Linked DNA regions of Homo sapiens: region 1 is linked to region 2. Evidence: promoter capture Hi-C in 16 types of primary human blood cells and fetal thymus (Javierre and others, 2016). All regions are on one chromosome and are shown on one strand. The core of a region is centred on a gene start or on the middle of the fragment in contact, and the rest is flanking DNA. Distances in the headings are between cores, read along the strand shown. Region 1 has its middle 5.5 kb from the start of LINC02696. Region 2 holds the start of CHST1 (carbohydrate sulfotransferase 1).

Evidence for each region. The method cuts DNA at HindIII sites, captures the fragments that hold promoters and counts their contacts. A CHiCAGO score of 5 or more calls a contact.
Region 1: a contact is called between a fragment that was not itself captured here and the fragment with the promoter of CHST1 in region 2, in 4 of 17 cell types (megakaryocytes, endothelial precursors, M2 macrophages and 1 more). The highest score is 5.6, in megakaryocytes.

Annotation. Positions count from the first base shown.
Region 1 is chr11:45,347,961-45,351,818 of GRCh38, reverse strand. No RefSeq gene overlaps it. Among named protein-coding and RNA genes, the nearest start is that of LINC02696, 5.5 kb to the left of the region's middle. The HindIII fragment of the contact is 5,570 bases long and covers 1-3,858 here.
Region 2 is chr11:45,663,672-45,667,180 of GRCh38, reverse strand. It overlaps CHST1 (carbohydrate sulfotransferase 1), which reads left to right and starts at 1,559. Exons shown (of 4, transcript NM_003654.6): 1 at 1,559-2,003. The HindIII fragment of the contact is 4,208 bases long and covers 1-3,509 here.

The DNA of each region.
Region 1 (3,858 bases), core at 1-2,500, 320 kb after region 2:
AAACCTTGCTGATCATCTTGTCTCTTACTGCAAACTTGTTTTCCATTTTGAAGAGCAGTGGGATGTTAACGCTCTTTCATAGGGAAATGTCTTTTGTGAAAGTGGAACAAGAGGCCAGCTTTAGAAATGCATCAGGGCTTCTGCTTCCAGGAAAATGGAGTAAATGTACTTTCTCTTCTTCCTCCCACAAAGTGCAACTAAAACCCCTGGGCATTATACAAAAAACAAACATAAGAAGACTTAGAAAGGTGGAATGACTAGGAACCTTGTGATCTAAGGAGCACCATGCTGGCAAATTTTCTGGGTTTTCCTTTGCCTCATATATTCCAAACCTAGAGCTGAGGAAGCCAGTGACCCAGTAATGCTAACGGCATCAGACAAAAAAAAAAAAAAAGTCCCAAGAAAAGCCACCTTTCTTAAGATAAAGGACTAAGAATGGGGCAACTTAGCAAGACAGAAGGCTTTTGGACAATAACTGCTTGACTCCAGCCAAAGACCACCAACAAAACAAACAAAAAAGTACTTCCCCTGTATCTGCTGATATCTATCTAAATGTTTGTAGAGGAAATATTTAAGACAATTATAAGTGGGAGAAGGTAAAGGGATATAGAGGATGGTAAAAATTTCTCCACTGCATTCAAATTGGTAAAATGATGACCCCAGAGAATGCGATATTATGTATATATTAAATGAAATACCTAGAGCAACCACTAAAAAGAATATACAGAAAGACACTCAAAAACACTAGATAAATAAAAATGAGATTCAACAAAAAAGTTAAAATAACTCACAGGAAGGCAAGAAAGAGAAAACAGAAATGAGAATAGAAAATACAAAATGGTAGACTTAAACCTTAACATATCAATAATTACATTAAATGTCAATGGTCTAAATACACCAATTAAAACACACAGATTGGCAGAGTAGAGGAAAATGATGACCTAGCTACATGCCACCTGTAAGAAATTCTCACTTCAAATTTAACAATATAGGCAGATTGAAAGTGAAAGGATGGAAAAAATATATCATGCAAACAATCAAAGTGGGAGTAGCTATATTAGCATCAGATAAGGTAAATTTCAGGGCAAAGAAAATTACCAGAGATAGAGAACAATGTGACAAAATGATAAAAGGGTCAATCCATCAAGAAGAAATATCAACCCTAAATGTGTACACACCAAATAACAGCTGCAAAATATGTGAAGCAAAAAATAGATACGTTAAAAGGAGAACTGGACAAATCCACACCCCTCTCTCAATAATTAATGGGACAGCTAGACAGAAAATCAGCAAGGATATAGAAAAATTCAGCAACACTATCAATCAAAATGATCTTATCAGCATTCATAGAATGCTCCACCTGACAACAGAAGGTATGTTCTTTTTAAGTGCCCAGGGAACATACTCCAAAAATCGACCACATTCTGGGCTATGAAACAGACTTTAACGCATTTGAAAGAGTTAAAATCATACCAAGTGTGTTCTCTGACCACTGTGGAATCAAATTAGAGAACGGCAACAGAAAGATGACAGTAAACTCACCCAAACAGGTGGAAACTAAGCAACACGTTTCTAAATATTCCATGGGTCAAAGTGGAAGTCTCAAGGGAAACAAAAGAATATGCTGTACTGGATGAAAATGAAAATAAGCATATCAAAATTTGTAGAAGAGAGCTAAGCAGTGCTGAGGGAAATTTATAGCACTAAATGCATAGCATACATTAGAAGAAAGGAAAACTCTCATCAACAATCTTAGCTCCCAACTACAGTACCTAGAAAAAGAAAAGCAAATTAAACCCATAACAAGCTGAAAGAAAGAAATAATAAAGAGCAAAGTCAAGAAATAGAAAGCAATAAAACTATTAAAGCAACTAAAAAAAAAGAGCTGGTTTTTTGAAAATATTTTCTAAAGGATAAAACTCTAGCAAGACAGACAAAAAAGAAGAATATTAGGTAACATTCTAATATCACCAATATTAGGAATGAAACAGAGGATATTACTACAGGTTCTCCAGAATAAGCAAGATAATAAAGGAATACAGTTGACCCTCTTCAGGAGGATGAAGGCACACACTCTCAAGTCAGGCTGCCAGATGAGCCATTACAACATGGCATGTTGTAATGAGGTAACATTTGGGAATGATGGATATGTTCATTATCTGGATTATGGTAATGGTTTCATGAGAGTATACATATGCCAAAACTTATTAAATTGTATGTTTTTAAGTGTTCAGCTTATTGTAGGTCACTTAAATAAAGGTTAAAAGAAAGCATTATCAAATCTTAATCTTTGCCATATGTATTTATTTCAGATTCTCCACTTACAAACACAGATCATTTTTTTATCCCAAACCTATTTTCCCCCATTTCCTATATATAAGCACTAGGAAATTGAATTTGGTGTTTTTGATCCCCACGCATAATTTTCTATATTAGTGCAGAAGTCTTTATAAACATTATATAACATAGTTTTGTATTACTTAATATTGTACATAAATGAAGTATCTATCATTCTGTAATTTGCTTTCTTTGTTTAACATATTTATGAATAAATTACATAACTTTAACAAAAACTTAAGGGAGGTATTATTACCATTTTACAGATGGAGAGAGAAACTGAGGTTCACCCTGATTAGGTGAACCATTTCTTGCCAAAGGTGATTATGAAGCCAGGATTGAGCCAGGTCTGACCTGGGTCAAAGCCAGAGCTTTAAACAGTGACCACAGGTACTTTGGGGGAGATTTTCCTCAAGGGCTCCCTTGTTTGTGCTTCCTGGGATTGTCATGAGCAGCACCCTTCCAGGCAATTTGCTCTTCTAGACTGTTCTAGACCACACTGGTTTGTCTGGCTACCTGGCATTCAGGTTGGGTCAGGCATTGCTTTGCCATATCCAGCTGTACTTTGCCGGGATCAAAGATAGTACCTTTGCCCTGCCTTGCTCCTTCTATTAATACTACTCCCTGGTCTAAATAAGGCCTGCCTTTTTTTGTCTAGATAGGGCTTCTTAACCTCTTTCATGTCAGGGATACCTCTGGCAGGGAAGCCTAGGGGCACCTTGGAATAAAACTTTTTAAATGCTGAAGACACATATGATTACAGCCTTATTGAAATACAAAATATATTTTAAAATGGTGATTGAATCATACATATGCTCCTTTTTTTTTTTTTTTGAGATGGAGTCTCCCTCTGTCACCCAAGCTGGAGTGCAGTGTTGCGATCTCAGCTCACTGCAACCTCTGCCTCCTGGGTTCAAGTGATTCTCCTGCTTCAGCCTCCAGAGTAGCTGTGATTACAGGTTCCTGCCACCATGCCTGGCTAATTTTTGTATTTTTAGTTGAGACAGGGTTTCACCATGTTGACTAGACTGGTCTCGAACTCCTGACCTCAAGTGATCTGCCTGCTTCAGCATCCCAAAATGCTGGGACTACAGGCGTGAGCCACCATACCTGGCCGATATATGCTTCTTTATTTATGCTTTTATGTTACAAGGTCTAATAGTGGATCTAATTGCCAATTTTGCTGCACAGATGAGCCTGAGCTTGATTTCAACATATCTGTAGCAACTGTAATACATGAAAATGTCGGTGATTTCTATTGGTGACAATGAGGACTGATAACATTACTATGGTTTGTTGCCTGCTTTCCAAACCAAAGTGCTACATTTCGGTTGGAAGTTAGCAAACATAGATATATTTTTCCTCATTTGAGTTCACAGACCCCTGAATTCCCTCCACAAACATGTTACGGGTCCGTGGACCCCTGGATAAAAGTCACTGGACTAGCACCTTCCCAGAGAACCAGGAATTAGAGGGGCTTGGAAGCAGCTGGTTTTTGGGGCAGACAGAAAGCTGGTCCCA
Region 2 (3,509 bases), core at 310-2,809:
AGGGAGACCTTCTTGATGACCCGAGAGCCCAGTCCTCCAGGGAAGTGCAGCTGTCATGTTCTCCTCTTGGCGAGTGAGTGAATGTTTGTTCCTGGCTACCCTGAACGCAACAATGTGCAATTATTAAGTACTCACCCCCTTGCCAGACACTGCTGAATGCTCTACACACATTACCATCCAGTGTTCACAACACCCCTACAGGGTGAGGATCAGTACCTCTGTCTTCTGGATGAGGAAACTGAGCCGCAGAGAGGCTGATCACTCACACAAAGTCACCCAGCAAACACACAGCAGGTTCCTCTGACCCAGGAAACTGCTGTGCTAACCATTCTGCTGTGCTTCACTGTGTGGGATGGAGGCAGCAGCTGCTTGCCCATACATCGGGGACGAGGCTTTCCCAGAATGCCTGGAGTTTTCAAGCCATCCACTGCTCTCTGCGCCCCAGTCCAGGAGTGATGGAGAGCTATAGTCGGGAATCAGAGATTCCAGGTGGAGATGAAGGCTGACTGTTCCTCTGCTTCAGAAATAACCATTTGGTCAGAACTGAGGAGCATCAGAGGTTCAGCCAGACAAAGCACCTTCCTAGTCTCCAGATGAGGAAACAGGCCACTGGGGTGGGCAGCCTCAGTCATGTCAGATGTGGTGGCAGAGCTGGGACTCCTGGCCGTCCTCTCCAGCCCAGGGGCCACTGATCACATGATATTGCTCTGCTCATGCACCCTGCTTCTCCTCCACTCCACTCTGAGAGGTTCATCAACCAGTCCCTGGTGCCCATGAAGGCCAGGCCTGTGGAAGATGCTCAGTCAATATTTGTGCAGAGGATACAGGCCCAAGGTGCTCGGCTGGCCAGCTCTGTCCCCATCCCTCATCCATAAAAGCAGTGGTGGCTCCAGATTGCCACCTAGAAAGCCAGGGGCAGTCTGGTAGGAAGAAGGTGGGCAGTGTGGAGGAGCGGCCTAGAAGACGGTCAGCCAGCAAACCCACTCTAAGGTCCCATTAAGACACCCCCTGACCCTGCCCAAGAGGGACAACTGCAGCGGGGACAAATGATTCATCCCCACACTTGAGAAGCAGAGGGGCGGGGAAGGAGGAAAGGCTAGGGGTGTGTGTCAGGGTATTGCACACAGAGATGGTTGGCTTCAGTTCTGGGTTCTGAAGTCCCTCTGTGCCGCTGGCTGGGCAAGAGGTAAAGGACAGCTGGGCCAGGGGCCAGGCTGGGACTCCAGCAGGACTTCCGCGGCGAGGGGCGCTGGGGGGGCGAAAGGCTTTGGCGGCCCGGCCAGCAGCGCCCTCGGGGGTAAGGGGAAGGGAGGCTACGCGGAGAGGTGCCAGAGACAGCCGGTGCCCTTGCCCGCCGGCCGCCCGAAGTCCGGGTGGTGGGCGTGGCTGCCCCCGGCGGGTGGGTGGGGGCGGGCTCCGGAGCCTGGCTGCGGAGTGGGTGTCCAGGGCGCTCGCGGCTGGGGCGGCGCGGGGGGCGGGAAGGCGCGCGCCGAAGGGGTGGGGAGGAGAAGGGGCGGGCGGCTCGGGGGTGGAGCCGGGACCGCAGCGCCTGCCGCTCGCTCGGAGCTGTAGCCGCCGCTGCCGCCGCTGCTCTTGGCTCGGGGACGCGGGCGGGCGCTCCGAGAGGCTCTGGTGCCTGCGGCTGCTGCTCTCCTCCGGCGCCCGGGGCTGCGGCGCTCCGGGTCCCGGCCCCTGTCCCGGCATCTCTCGGGTCCCTGAGCCCCGGCCCCGGGTCCCGCGTCCGGCCGGAGAGAACGCACTCAGCTGCTCGAGCCGCCCCGGGCTCGCGCCCCCGGGCCATGAAGAGGGGCCCGTGAGGCGCGCGCGGAGTCGGAGGAAGAGGAGGGAGGAGGGAGGCCGAGGAGGAGGGCGCGGGAGGCGGAGGATGCCGCCGCGGCTGCTGCCGCCGCCGCCACCCGCGGGTCCCCGGCGACCCTGACTCCAGACCCGAGGATGGAGCCGGCGCTGGGCGCTGCAGCTGCTCCCGGCGCGTCCCCGACCAGGTATTGGCCGGGCCCCGCGGGCTCCGGGGCGGGCGGGAGCGGACACTCCGCCGCAGCAGCCGGGAGGGGCGCGGGCGCGGTGGGAGACGCCCCTCCGCTCGGGGACAGCAGCTACCGGCGGTGAGCGGAGGGGTGGCGGCGGCGAGGAACGGCGGCGTGTTGGGCGCAGGAAGGGGCTGCCGGGGCTGGTGGCCGGTGAGCGCCGCGATCACCTCAGCCCTCCCTGCCCCCATTCGAGGAGGGCAGCAAACTTGAGACGCGCGGTGGCCCCCGAGGCGCTTGGCTCCCCTCCGCTGCGGAGCGCACTCAGGGGCTGCTCCGGGCTCACCGTCCCACGACCCGCCTGGCTCGGGTCTGCGGAGGCGCCTTGAGACCCTGAGGTCCCCGCGCCCGCACCAACTTTCCAAACCCAGCTGCACCCGGAGGCGGGGGCGCCGCTCCCTGCTTCCTGCTCCCAGCCCTGGCCCGGCCTCCGCACCCAGACCGCTGCGATGAGCTGGGCCCCTGTGGGGCCGGAGCCGCCGGATGGTGCAGAGCCCACCACGGAAAGCCGGAACAACCCTCCCGCTCTTCTCTGGGTAGGACCCGGGGATCAGCCCCTCCCAGGCTCCAGGGACCCAGTGCTGGCTTTCGCGGTAACAGCCCAGAGTAACCCTAGCTGGGATGCTGGGCGTTAAAAGGCCAGGCTGCCTGAGGAAGGTAAGACCCGGGGGTCGTCCTGGAGTGGCACCTTGGCCTGATTTCAGGTGTGCCCCCTCCCCCACCCCGGGCCTGCCCTTTCACAGGACTGCCTTCCTCAGCTCTGGGGCCGGCTTCCTCTTGGTGGACTTAAAACTGCTCTTCGGCAGCGGACTCCCTAGGAAGGGCCACTCCTAGGGTCCAGGTGCCTGAAGACGGGCTTGGGCCGGCCATTGACAGGGAGCTGGAGGCTGGGGCAGGGGAGGTGGCTGTCCAGTCAAGGACAGAAATTCAGTCCAGCAACTTCTGGAGGGGTGGGAGGAGCTGGGGGCAGGCTTGGGCGCAGGAGTCAGGCACCCTGGCTGGGAGGAAGCTGCTTTGACCAGCACAGGGACGTCAGAGGCAAGCAGGTGGGAACGAGTGGGCCAGGTGTCTACCTCCAGAGGTTCCTCAGCCCCTTGCAGTGGGGCCTGCTGTCTCAGGCAGAGACCTTACCTGGGCAGGCAGTTCCCAGGCTCCTGTCCTCAGCAGTGGGGACACTTCCAGGCATCATGATGACCCTGTTTCTTTTTCAAAGTGCTTTCATCGTCATGACTCACACATCACATTCACCAGGGAGGTATCAGGCTTCCAACCTATTCAATTCCCCTCCCTACCGGGTCTTTAGGGAGCTGCTGGGGAAAGGAATGGGTGGATTTGCCCTTGAGCCTTGAACCCCTGCAGGAGGCCAGGAGCCTGGCATGGCACCTTTGATTTTCCTGTTGCCAGTCCCTCATCCTGGCGGTGAGCAGCCCTAGGCCAGGATGCTTCACAGTGATGGGGTGGGGA